2 separate regions of the Homo sapiens genome follow, and region 1 is linked to region 2. The links are contacts of gene promoters, found by promoter capture Hi-C in human tissues and cell types (Jung and others, 2019). All regions are on one chromosome and are shown on one strand. The core of a region is centred on a gene start or on the middle of the fragment in contact, and the rest is flanking DNA. Distances in the headings are between cores, read along the strand shown. Region 1 overlaps DISP1 (dispatched RND transporter family member 1). Region 2 holds the start of DISP1 (dispatched RND transporter family member 1).

Region 1 (7,133 bases), core at 1,627-4,126, 140 kb after region 2:
TGTCTTCAAGGGTCATTCATGTTGTAGCATGTGTCATAATTTCCTTTCTTTTTAAGGCTGAATAATATTCCATTGTATATTTATATATTATATTTTATCATTTTATCAGTTACATTTTATCATTTTATCAATTACACAATACATTTTATCAGTTCATTGATGGACACTTCGATCTTTCAGGTATCATGGCTATTGTGAATAATGCTGCTATGAGCTTGGGTTCTGTTCAAGTCCCTGCTTTCAGTTCTTTTGGGTATATGCTCAGACCAGAAGTGGAATTACTGGAGCATATGGTAATTCTGTTTTTAGCTTTTTGAGGAACCGTTTTCCATAGTGGCTGCACCATTTTACACCAGCAGTGCAAAAAGTTCCAGTGTTTCCAGATCCTTGCCGACACTTGTTATTTTATCTGTTTTTTCTTTTTTAAGAGTAGGCATCCTAATTGATGTGAGATTATAAATTTTAAAGCAGAAAAAAAAAACACAGTAAGAAACATTTTAGGAAATTTCATCGTTTGCATTGTGGAGAGTAGATTGAATTGGGTCAGGACCGTTGTAGATAGGAAGAACACTATAAGGCTTGTTGCAGTAGTTCAAGTGAGAAATGTGATAACTTGAACCATGATTTAGAAATAAATTCATTCTAGAGAGATTTAGGAGGTGGAATCTACTAGATTTGGTGGATGATTGGATATCGGAGGGGCAAAGGGAGTAAGAATCACAACTGATTTTCAGTTTCCTGGCTTGAGCAACTGGTTGGGTAGATGGTAATGCCATTCACTAAAATGGGGAAGACAGAAGAAGGGAACTAAGTAAACAGAGCTGAGACATTGAGCTTCCAGAGAGGACTACAGAGTAACAGTAACAGTGAAAGTGTGATGTCCCTTGAGCTTATTTGAAAGAATGAGGTTGCTGAGTAATACATGACAATGCACTGAGGGCAATACTGGTGGGGGTTATCTTAGAATGAACACTGAAGCACTTTGACTCAGGCCAGCAGGTATTATATTTGCAGAATTGTGCTATGGGCAAGGCACTGAGTGAGATGCTATCTCGTCCTTTACCCAACCAATAAAATATCCACAGAAGCAAATGTGCTCTTCGATAGAGCTGCTATCTATGTATGGGAGAACAGGGCAGTTTGGGAAAGTCTGCACAGGATGTCCTTGGTAAGGAATTCTGAAAATGAGGATGTTGTACCATGCTTTACTGCCTTTGATTATTCTACGCAACTCTTTCAGGAACTTACTGTAACAAAGGTTCTAGAGGTTGATCTCGACCAGGAACTTCAAGTCTTTTTAGTTTTCTTTATTGTGGTTTATTGCTATGTAATTTTTAAGTTCTTTTTAAATTGATAAGGTCAAGTAAGTACTTAATGAAATGTTATTCAATTAATGTTTAAGGTGTATTTATGACTTCACATTACTTTAAAGGATGTGTTAAACATTGACCGCCTTAGAGTAAAATTGTATGGTGATGGAAGATCCTAAGTGCTATCAATTTTTATTGTTATTTGCACCTATACCACAAATGGGCCCACCTGTTTGTATTTGAAAGTGTTTTCTAAAGTTTTTATTTGTTTATAAAGCACTTAAGCCATAGAGAATGTTTTAAAGAATCAATCAGATAGAAAATATAATTTTAACGTAGGCCATTTGCTACTTACCACCTTTTGTATAGTAGACTCTCTTTCATCCCCTCTTGATTCTTTAAGCTTTAATAAATCTTTCTAAAAGATTCATTATATCAACCATCTGTGTGTTTTTTTTAAAAAAAAATTCCTTTTTAGTGTTCCGATTAATAAAATTAAGGCCAGGCGTGGTGGCTTGAGCTTGTAATCCCAGAACTTTGGGAGGCTGTGGCAGGCCAATCACTTGAGGTCAGGAGTTCGAGACCAGCCTGGCCAGCAATGGCGAAACCCTGTCTCTGCTAAACTACAAAAATTAGCCTGGTGTGGTGGTGCGCACCTGTAGTCCCAGCTACTTGGGAGGCTGAGGCAGGAGAATTACTTGAATCCGAGAGGTGGAGGTTGCAGTAAGCCAGGATCGTACCACTGCACTCCAGCCTGAGCGACAGAGGGAGACTCTCAAAAAAAAAAATACATAAAATTAAAATAAAGATTATTGCAAGGATCACATTTAATATGTCTATTTTAATTATTGCCAAATATTAAGTAGCTTAAATCGATTTTATTTTAAAGCTTTAGATTTCATTTTAAAGCTTCAGGCTTTTATATTTGTAGATTCCTGTCCTCATATACATTATTCAGCCCTTAATTAACATGTCTAATTGAGAACAATAAGGAATTTTATTTTATCTTATTTTATTTATTTGTTTCTTTTTGAGACAGAGTCTTGCTCCATCGCCCAGGCTGGAGTGCAGTGGCACGATCTCAGCTCACTGCAACCTCCACCTCCTGGGTTCAACGGATTCTTCTGCCTCAGCCTCCTGAGCAGTTGGGATTACAGGCGCACACCACCACGCCCAGCTAATTTTTGTACTTTTAGTAGAGATGGGGTTTCACCATGTTGACCAGGCTGGTCTTGAACTCCTGGCCTCAAGTGATCCGCCTGCCTCAGCCTCCCAAAGTGCTGGGATTACAGGCATGAGCCACAGCGCCCAGCCACAATAAGGAATTTTAAAAGGCTGAAAATAGTCTCTCCTCACCATGAGGCAAGACTTATACCAACAAGTCCTAAACCTAGCTGATCATCTTTGGAGTCACCTGGGGAATTAAAAATAAAATAAGTAGAATAAGAAGATATTTCTTTTGCAGTAGAAACAATAAATAACTCTAAGAGTTGAGAGGTGGGAAGGATCCCCTGGAAGGATCCCTGTAGGTTATTGAGGTTAGGGACAGTCTGACTGAGAAGAACAGAACATGAATGGCCCTTGAAAGATGACTAGAAATGAATGAAGGGACTCGAGGAGGCAAAACATGGAAAGTGGAGGAAAGTTGTGAAGGGAAAGCTTTCAAAAACCAAAGCTTTAAAATATTTCTTAAAACATGTAAGAAAGGGCCAGGCGCAGTGGCTCACGCTGTAATCCCAGTACTTTGGGAAGCCGAGGCAGGCGGATCATGAGGTCAGGAGATCGAGACCGTCCTGGCTAACACAGTGAAACCCCTTCTCTACTAAAAATACAAAAAATTAGCTGGGCGTGGTGGTGGGCACCTGTAGTCCCAGCTACTCGGGAGGCTGAGGCAGGAGAATGGCCTGAACCCGGGAGGCAGAGCTTGCAGTGATCTGAGATCGCACCACTGCACTCCGGCCTCGAGGACAGAGCGAGACTCCGTCTCAAAAAAAAAAAACCCATGTGAGAAAGGTAAAGAGAACAAGATTGTGGGAGCGGAGGGTCATTGTGGGTGTCCCCAATCTACGTCCTGAACAGTCCATTTGATGATCTGTTCTTTATCCTCCAGAGAGCTGGAAAATACCTCTCAAAAGCCAGTCACATTCCACGTGTGCTGGTTGAAGCAAGTTTTGAGTTATTCATTTGGGATCTTCTTATTGCCGTATTAAAGTGAAAGAGTAGTGGTATTATTGCAAAATTAATAAGGAGTTCTGCATCCAAAAATAGCACACTAGAGTTCTAATCTAAACTATACTTACCTTTTAATTCGGTGTTGCAAAGAAATATTCTTGATTGTAACAGAGGACTCCATAAATGATACTTGGCAATGCCACAGACTCATTATCATGATAGGGAACCTGTGATATTTTTGGGTACCTGCCAAATGCATTTTTATTTACCTAAGGTGATTTCATAGACAGATGGCCATTTTGAATGTTTCATGTGACTCACTAGAGGAATTAGAGCTATACAGAGTTAAGAATGCTTGGCGTAGAGGGAACCGTAGAACCCTGGGACTAGCTTAGCCTCTTAAAGTTAACTAAATATTGTCCCTGCCACCCCCATATGTTATGACTGTATAATTTTTATAACTTACATTTCCTTTCATTTCTTTATTCATTTTCTAATTTCTGACTCATTTTTCTCAGAGGTTTTCTTTTTGTTTCCCCTTAGGGCATTAGTTATTTTCTATGAAGGGGCCTCTTTTAAAACAAAAAAAAAAAAGTAAGAAATGAGAATTCTCATGTTATATTAAAAAGACAAGAATTCTACCACCAGAATTCTTGTTTATTGGCATGTGCTGTACCATGACATCCTTTCCCCTCTCCTTAGCCCTGGTGATTGTATTATTTTGTTAGTCAGAAAATTTGAGCCAGAAATCACTTTGAACACTTCATCAACATTGTGGCATGAACCTGATCATTGACGCAGATCCCACAGTCTCTGCTTTACTCAGATCACCCAGAGTCCATTCAAATGCTTCTCTAAGATGTTGCAGCAATGAATGGAGAAATTCAGAGTTAGTTATTCACTTATTTAGCAAGTGCTTGATGAGTACTTAGTAAGTGTTAGGTGCTGGAGACAGGTGGAAACTGCAAAGTCTGGTTCCTGACTTCAAAGATGTAGAAGTAGAGTGGACAAGACAAGACACTTAGATTTTAGCATAGGGTGACCATAGATAGATTGCCATCTTTGATCGGTAAGTATTTACAGAATAGCTGTTGTATTCTCTGGAGCACAGAAGTTAAATACCAGTGCTTTTACAGAGGCACAGGCAAGTTTTATGTGTAAACTTTTATGTATAAATTTTTATGTATAAAGTTTTAATAGTAAAAGAGAACTAGACTATACAGTTTTACAAATTCATATTCCCCTCTTTTCCGCTCTTACCATTGAAAGATTGATTACTAATAGTGAAACAATCATTTCTCTTTATTTTTTATATAAATTGTTGACTCTCTGGAACTGCTGGACAAGTGTCTTTTGCAAGAAGGAATAGCTAAACTGCATTCTTTAGACATTTGCTTTTCAATAAACCATTGGCTTTTCAATAAAGCCAGTAAAATTAAAAATTTGGTTATTTGGTTACACTGCTCACAATTTCAGTACTCAGTAGCCACATGTGGCTAGTAGCTACATATTGGACAGCACAGATGGAAAACGTTTCCATCATTGCAGAGAGTTTTATTGAACAGGACTACCTTTCTTGGCTCTGTTAAAACAACTGAGATCCCTTTTCAATGTCCATGGCAGCAAATGAAACTTATATGATATAGAATAACAGCAATATTTGACAGTGAATACTTTTTTGTTGTTGTTGTTGTTGACATAATTCTACTTAGTATTTGCTTGTGTTTTGTTTATTAAATAACAAAGAAATGACAAAAATAAAATCCCTTCAAAAACCTGAAGGACAGCTGTGCGCAGTGGCTCAAGTCTGTAATCCCAGCACTTTGGGAGGCCGAGGCAGGCGGATCACAAGGTCAAGAGATTGAGACCATCCTGGCCAACATGGTGAAACCCCATCTCTACTAAAAATACAAAAATTAGCTGGGTGTGGTGGCACGCACCTGTAGTCCCAGCTACTCAGGAGGCTGAGGCCGGAGAATCGCTTGAACCTGGGCGGTGGTTGCAGTGAGCCGAGATCGCGCCACTGCACTCCAGCCTGGCGACAGAGGGAGACTGTCTAAAAACAAAACAAACAAACAAACAAACAAAAAATCTGAAGGACTAAAAGTCCTACATTAGCAAAAATTGTGTAACAAGTAGGCAATATCCTTCAGAATCTTCTAGAGGCCGCAATTACATTCCACAAAAGCCACTGCATATCTTTATTTATGAGTCAAAAACTATCATCTTATTTAGTTTATAGTTGCCGGGCTTTTTGTAAGTAGATCTAAAATATAAATGTAAAAATGCAGTTTTTCTCCAGGATAGAGAAGTATAGCTAGTCTCTAGAAGCAATCATTGTTGCTACATTGTAATTTATTTTTCTTTTCTCAATCCTTTCCTCATTGTACAACATAAAGTAGTAAGAGCATCTCTGTAAAATGGGAGTAACAGTAGCTATTTTGCACTTAACACAGTGCCTGTTACCAAATTTTAATCTCCCTTCTGTTCTCCATTTTTGTTCCTTTCACTTTTCTTTTAAGTTTTGTTGTTGTTTTTGTTATTGTTTCATGCCTGCGCTTAATCCTGTTGGTATTGTTTTAGAAATGAAGCTATTACTGAACCTGGTTTAAATAAAGACATGATGTGTTCCTTTTCATTTTTATTTATAAATGACACACCTCACACCATCAACCTATAGGAAAAGATGGTCACTCATTTGCCTTCCGGAGGAGGAAAAGGGTTGTGAAGAATAAATAGGCCTCTTTAGCCCCCGAAACTGAGAGCCTTTATACTTTATACTGATTACATAAATCTGATTATGATATTTGATCTTAGAAGAAGTCTGGTAAGATTTAATTTTGATTTCACTGAAACCAGGATTTATTTTGACATTCCTTAAAGTAGTCAAATTAACTTTTTAAAAAGGGATAATGTTTATAAAATTTAAAATGTTCCAGGCTTGCTTGCCAAAGTAAGTCAGCTTGGCAGTCAGACAGAGTGAAGGCCTATTTTTTAGAAAGACTTCTTTGAGAGAGTTCTTCTTTTATTATAAATGAACAGATTTTAGAGTGTGCTATGCCTCAAGGAATACATTGTACATTCTGTAATACATTTTAGAATATGAGGCTTGGTCATCTTTTACTTTAATAATGAACGTCAGAAAACAATGCCTTCTTTATTTTATAAAACTAATTAATATAAGATTTTAGAATGAAGCAAGTATATTCTTTATCCCCTTTCCATATTCGTGCTAGTTATTTAGCAGATACTGGAGAGTAAAGGGGAAAAAAAGAAATGCTTTAGGTTTTTTTCTTTTTGGTTAAAAAAAAAATTCAAAAGGTTGTAAAATGTTTGGGAAACAGTGAGACTTTAAAAAAAAATTATTATGGATCAGTTACATGTCTAATTCCAGGAAAAAGGCACTTGTGATCTATTGCATCTTCTTTTCAAACTTAAATGGATTGTTAGGTGTAACTTAAAAGAATTTATAGAACTTAACATTTAAAGGACAATTTTGATTGCTGTAATATTCTGTGTTCTTTTCAGCAAAATTGACACTACAAAATTGTCTTTTTAAAACACAAACCAGATATTCAACTGATTACTTGGTATTTTGGAGTTTGAAATAGAGCCTAAGGCCTGGGACCCATTCACAGTTCAATAAATATT
Region 2 (6,913 bases), core at 4,119-6,618:
GGCCTATAATCCTGCTATAATGCTAGCACTTTGGGAGGCCGAGGTGGGTGGATCACCTGAGGTCAGGAGTTTGAGACCAGCCTGGCTAACATGGTGAAACCCCGTCTCTACTAAAAATACAAAAATTAGCCAGGCGTGGTGGCGGGCACCTGTAATCCCAGCTACTCGGGAGGCAGAGGCAGGAGAATTGCTTGAACCCCGGGGGTGGAGGTTGCAGTGAGCTGAGATCATGCCACTTCACTCCAGCCTGGGTGACAAAGTGAGACTCCGTCTCAAAAAAAAAAAAAAAAAAAAAGAAAAGAAATAACCTGCTATGGTTCTACCATGTCTACTCAAGGCAACTATAATCAACCTGTGCTTTATTGTTTGATTTTAAAAGTTTTTAAGAGAATGCTAAAAATAAAAGAAGTGACTTCTCACTAACTAGAGAAGTAGAGAAGGTGTAGCCCCCTTTAAGGCATGAATCCATTGTTTCTACAGGAAAAGTTTTGCCTCAATATTCCCAGCCTGTAGTTAATTCTGTTTTAGGAAATATGTTTCTTATCACTGAGACACAGAACTGAAAATTCATTCTGTTACTTACCTACTGGTGAGATTTCCAAGTTAGGATTAGAGCTGCGGGTCTATTTTAGTTACCAACCATGGAGTGAAATTTTTACTGAAAAACAAAGGCTTGTTTTATTAGTCGCTGTGGAATTTAGCAGGTGAAGCTTTCTCTGGCGGCAGTATCTCTGCTTAGTTTTGATTTTCCTGGGAGGAAAATGAAGTGAGGCTTGTGCACCAATCAAACACGTGGAATGCCCATTGCTTTTGCAGAGAAACAAGCAGGATTGGAGTTCAAAAGTATTAACTTGAATAAAAATCCTTAGGAACACATCCACCCAGATTTTTAGTTAATGAGTATCATGCCAAGTCTCCCTGTTATGTTTCTTTTACACATGGAATTTCCATTGGTTTAGCTCTTAAAGAGGTCTGAAGCAGAACGGCATCCCTGTGGAAATCACATGTTTTATTTGGATTCCACAGGAGAAAAGAGCTGAAAAGGGCAAAATATTATTTCTATTAGAAATGTATTTACTTCAAGAAGATATGAATCAGTGCTAAAAATGTTTTTGCAGGATATACAAACATAAAATTACATCAAAACACTGAGGGGAGAAGGAAATGGAGAATTATTGTTTAATGGATACAAAGTATCATTTTTGGGAAGATGAAAAATTTCTGGGCTGGGTGCGGGGGCTCATGCCTGTAATCCCAACAGTTTGGGAGGCTGAGGCAAGAGGATCGCTTGACCCCAGGAGATCGAGACTAGCCTGGGCAACATAAGAAGACCCCCATCTCTTAAAAAAAAATACAAAAATTAGCCAAACATGGTGTTGCATGCCTGTAGTCCCAGCTACTCAGGAGGCTGAGGTCAAAGGACGGCTTGAGCCCAGGAGATAGAGACTGCAGTAAGCCCAGATTGCAGCACTGCACTCCAGCCTGGACAACAGTGCCAAATTTCTGGAGATGATGACGGTGAGTAATATTTGCACATCATTAGGAAGGAAATGGCACTTTAAATTTAGTAATTAATTTTTCACTTTATGTAAGAGATGTTAAGATCTTCATAGAAAATATCTGGCCTTTAATAAGCTGCAGAAGAGTTAGGAATTATTAATTGGAGATCCCTGGCTGACCTTATTTATCACTCATTTCATAATCTGTAATTAATGCAAGTTTGGTGTTGTGATTGCTTCCAAGTGTAGACTAGTTGATTTTGCCACAAATTTCTAAATTACTGGATTTAGTAGTAATTTAGTAAATTGCCACTAAATTACAAAGGGACGAGGATATAGTTTTAGACATAACTGCAAATATATCGATGTTTATGTTGGTGGTAAAAAAAAAAAGTAAGGAAACGACATATACCCATGTATGAACTAAAGAGAATGTAGAATGTGTAAATAAACTTTATGAATAACTAACCTTATTAGCTCTGTTAATTAACCCATCTACCTGTTTGAGCCAGTTGGCGAGTACGGAAAAAAAAAGTAGGAAAATTTTCCTTAAAATTTTCTCTCCTGATTCAGATTAACATATTCACTATCTACTGTCACCCACAAATGGCTTTTGAACAGCTCTCACAGTTCCGCAGTCAGGCTGATGCCATTATACAGATGTGGGTAAACTCCAAAGATCAGGAGCTGAGTGGGAGGAGACTGAATAGTGCACTTTCAAGGATTTCACAGTAGTTTCCTCAGTTGTTGAGAGACGAGATTGTTAGCTAATCCTGTCTCTGGGACTACTGAACTATTTAGCCTTAGGAAAACCACTATGCCTAGCTGGAAGGGCATTAGTTCCTTCCTCTGTTGACATGCATGGTTTCCAAAGTCTCCTTCCACTTTACACTCTGATTGCATGATTCTCCCCACCTGTGTGATTTTAATAGTTAAAGTCATCTAACCCATGGTAATTGTGACAGTTTTCCTGAATGGACCAGGCAGCCATGGAGGTGTGCAAATCCTTCTCCTGTTCTTGAGTCTGAGGAGAGAAAGTGGCTCCAGAACTCTGGTGCATGCTATAGAATGAGTGGGCAACCTTGTGTCTTGTGAATTGATGTCTTGGGGTTTGATTGCTAGGAGGGGAAACCTACTAAAATGATTCTTAACCAAATGGGGGGTTTACTGGAAGGACACGGAATTTTCGTAGAACTTAAGGGCAGAACATTTAGCTGGATCTCATAAGGGACTGGGGAATCAGAAACTGAAAAGAAGGGAACTAAGATGTTCACCTCTCAGATAAGTCTTCTCTTTTTCCATCTTTCTCTCCTTATCCTTATTTCCTTCTCATCATTCCTGTTGCTTTCCCCCTTTTCCCATCAGTTTTGAACATCTTACTCATGCCTAACCTAATTCTAGGTTTGGACATTTCTAATTTAGCATGCAAGAGTGGAGCCCTATATGTGCATTGCAAAATCCATGCATGTGAGACTTTCTAGGCCTGTTTGAGTTCAGTGTTCATATTTGGTCTGGTTTGCTGTGGCAATGAGTATGGTTCGTTCAGCTCAGTGCCCATTCAGAAGAGACTCTTGGAGCACATTATCTTAAACAAGGATTGGAAATGAATATGCTCCTTAAGATTATTTTGGTTGCAAGCAGCAGCAATCTTCTTTGACTAGCCAAAAAAAAAAAAGTTTTGGAATTATACAGGGATATCTCCTATAACCAAAGGAAACAGGGCAGGTCCTGGATCTTTGGCAAAGGGTGTTAATAGATTTTTTCTTTAGGGAACTGCCATTTGTGACTCAGTTCTACTGAGTAACTATATTCTCTCTGTGTTTCTCTATGCCTCATTTAAGATTTCTGGGGCAAAGAGTCTAAATGGTCTGGTTTAGGATATGCCCACCTCTGAATTAATCTGTTATGTAGACAAGGGACATGGTAGCGCAACCAACTTGTCTCAGTTTTCGCAAAACTATCCCAGTTTAAGCACCGAAAGTCCAGCATCCTGGTATCCCCCTGTCTTTAGCAAACCAGAGTAGCTGGTCACACTAGGACATGGTCGCTTGTGCATATGTGGCCCATAAAAGGACTGCCTCTATGTATTTCAGCCATTCCTACAAAAAAAGGAATTGTGAGAAGCTATAAGGAAACATTTCACAGAGTGTCTATTACATTCTACTTCTTGGCACCCAGCGTGGGCACACACACACACACACACACACACACACACACCCCCCACATCACACCACATACACACTCTCTTCTTTCCATCCTTTCAAAAATACACCTTGCCGCTATGTGAATCAGTTATTTCAAGTATCACCACAAATGGACTACTAACCTTCCCAATGGGAGAAAACCCAAACGCGTGACCTTTTACTTCACTTAGAGTTGATGTTATGCCCTCTAAGTACAGACTTTCTACACGATATCCATTCCTCATTTTCTTCTACTGTAATCCTATCTCCATATATTGCAATGTATGGCCTTTTGCTGGCAAAAGGAGAAAAAAAGAAAAATGTATGTATTATACCATTCCTTTTTAAAAAGGCAAAGAAAGGGCTTGGTGTGCAAGAGAGTATTTATTAAACACTGGTAGCAAAGAAAACAAACAAAAAATGCAACAGTCCTCATTACTGTAGCTGGTGTTGAAGCTTCTTTCTTCTGGGCCCATTCCATAGTTCCCTGTGACTTCAGTTAGCATCTCAGTTGGTTGGGGTGATTTGCTCAATGCAGCAACCTGAGGGGTATGATCCCTTGTGGTCCTGCCTTTATAGGGTTGTGGTAGCCGTCTATTGCCTTTACATCTGGGTATGGCAGTTCAAGAAAGCACCCTCAAGGATAAAACATGCTATTCATGATGTATTATTTTTCTTTGATGACTAGGACAATCCCCCTAGTCAACCCCATGACTCACTGTTTTGTCTATTCCCTTAGATGACCCCACGGATTCCGTTGCACGGAGTCTCTGAAGTCCAAAATTTTTAAGCATAGGGCACAACGTTCTTCATGATTTGGCCTTGTCTCTTCTCATTATGCTTGCTCTTGCATCTGCCATCTGACACTTTGCTTAACTCCTGGCCAGCTACCGGTACAAGCCAAGCTCTCACTCCATAACGTCCTTCTTCTCTGCATGCCCTTCTCCACTGTGCCTGTCCTTTAACTCTTATTCATCATTTATTTCAGTCTCAATTGAAGAGTCATTATTTCTAGAAAGCCTTCTCCGCCCAGCTCTCTACATTGCACCGTTCCCTACAGCACCACCAGAGTGCCTCTAACACTTGATGGTTTCATTGCTTATATATTTTTGTTTCTGTGCATAAGCCTCCCGAGGGAGCCGCCGCTGTTCGATTTATTCTATAGCTAGTTCCTCGCCCTGAGTGTAAGCCTCACGAGAGTGGGGCTGTCCTCTGTTCGCTCTATCCCCAGCCCCTACAGCAGTGCCTGGTTGTTCACAGGCCTATATAGCAGGTGATAATAATCTGAATAATGAAAGAAGAAACACTGTCTTGTGGCGTGATTTACTTCTGTTTTTACTTATGTCAACTTTTAACTAGATTGTGAGGACAGAGGTCAGTGTCTGAGTCATCTTGTGCCTCACTGGGCTTGGGCAGAATAGACGCTTGGTCAAGCATTTGCACACTGGTCGATGGATACACTAGAAAGAGCAGGAGCGCGAGAGGGAATTTTTTTGGCGCCTGCCTCGCCCTTTCAAGCCAAGCCCCTCTGCCCTCTGCCCCTTGCCAGCCGCCCGTCGCCCGCCGCCGGCGATCCCTCTCCCGGGGAGCGGTAGTCAAGCGAGGCCAGCGGGCCGGGAGCGGGCCGGGAGCGGGCGAGGGGCGGGACTTCCGGTCCCGCTCGCGACGCGGACCGCGCCAGGCGGAAGCCCGGCTCCGGGCCAGCATCCGAGAGCCCGGACTGGAGGTGAGTTCGCAGCCGGAACGTTGCAGGCACTTGTTTCCTCAGTGGATGCCTTTCGGCGCGCCGCCGCCCGGCGCCGCGGGACTGGGAGACCGGGTAGGGACGGGAGAGTCGGCATCTCCCGCGCGTGTGGAGGGAAATCCGGGACCCCAGGCTTGAGAGAAGGGCCAGGACTGAGAACGGGGAACCAGGAGAGCCCTAAGGGCAGCCTTTAGGGACTGAGGAGGGAGGCACCGGGGACCCTGAGGCCAAAGAGGCCCTGAGACTGGAGGTTGCGGATGACACGGGGCAGAGTTGCATCTCGGAGGAAAGTAGTCATTCGTGGGGGCGTGTCCCGGGTCCTGGCGGATTGACTGAGAGGATGGCAGGAGATGGCAAAGGTTGGCTTCCAGGGAGAGGTTACAGAGGAGGGAGTCAGTCCTTCTCTGAGGGTCGTAGGTGAGAAGGACGTCTTGACCTAACGAACCAGAAAGATGACCAGCCACCTATTGGATGCTGAACTCCTATTGCTTCATTTGCAATTCATGCAGTTTGTTTTTTGTTTTTAGAAATATATCCCGCTCCGCGCGTGTGGATTTCGGGAAAATATTGTATATTCCTAGGGACCGCTCGAATTCTTGCTTCACCCAGATTCTGCGTGTCTTTGTCAAACTGATAGTAGTTGAGAGTTCTCTTCACCCAAGGAAGACAACCAAAGTTTTCCTTTTGGACTCTTCTCTACCCTGCAGAGTTTAGCTTGTCTTATTTCCCTTGTCATGGGATGAACTAAATGCGTTCAGAATTATGGTGATAATCACATGGAAAGCCAGTGCTGTCAATGTTTGCAGTTTCAACTCATTGTTTTTCTGTCCAACTTTCTAACACATTTTTTCTAAAAGCTATTTTGTTGGGTTTAGTCTTTTAGTTTAACCAATAAAGGCAATTTTACATCAGGGTGCAGCAAATTACTAGCAGTTCTTAAGATTTTACTGTTCCTTTTTATTTCTGCTGTAAGGAAATATATATATATATATATATATATATATATAAATATTTGCCATTGTCAGTGTTTTTTAAAAATATTGATAACCCAAGATCTGTTGTTACACGCACATTAGCACATTTAGTTTTCCCCAGTGGCCAGTGTTTGGTATGTGGGCTCATTATTATTACCAAAGGTAATTATTGATTTAGTTATTATTTACCTTGCATTTATGTTTTATTGGATGTGATTAATATGTGCTTCCTAATCTACATAATATAGTGTTTCACTCAGTGTAATTACAAAGATTCTCCTAGCTTTTAAGTAGGTAGTAAGTGAATTGGATTTTTGCCACAAAGTGAGCAAGGTAGCTAGGAAGAATCATAACACTGTCACTGATGGAGGGTGAGATCTGATGATTGCTTTGCTTGTTTCAGGTGTTTCACATTTCAAATGTTAGAAGTTTTTGTTTTAAAAATTACTGTATTAGTACAGGTAACTTTTAGATCTGATTTGGTGGTCTGACTTGAACTAATTCAGGAAAACT

What was found. The method cuts DNA at HindIII sites, captures the fragments that hold promoters and counts their contacts. A contact is called where the count stands out against the background at its distance.
Region 1: a contact is called between a fragment that was not itself captured here and the fragment with the promoter of DISP1 in region 2, in 3 of the 25 tissues and cell types used here (adrenal gland, bladder and liver).

The regions. Positions count from the first base shown.
Region 1 is chr1:222,947,303-222,954,435 of GRCh38, forward strand. All of the region lies in intron 3 of DISP1 (dispatched RND transporter family member 1), which reads left to right. Among named protein-coding and RNA genes, the nearest start is that of DISP1, 140 kb to the left of the region's middle. The HindIII fragment of the contact is 5,022 bases long and covers 366-5,387 here.
Region 2 is chr1:222,809,671-222,816,583 of GRCh38, forward strand. It overlaps DISP1 (dispatched RND transporter family member 1), which reads left to right and starts at 5,369. Exons shown (of 9, transcript NM_001377229.1): 1 at 5,369-5,408. RefSeq lists an enhancer at 4,760-4,819 and silencers at 5,060-5,139, 5,230-5,329. The HindIII fragment of the contact is 9,383 bases long and covers 2,425-6,913 here.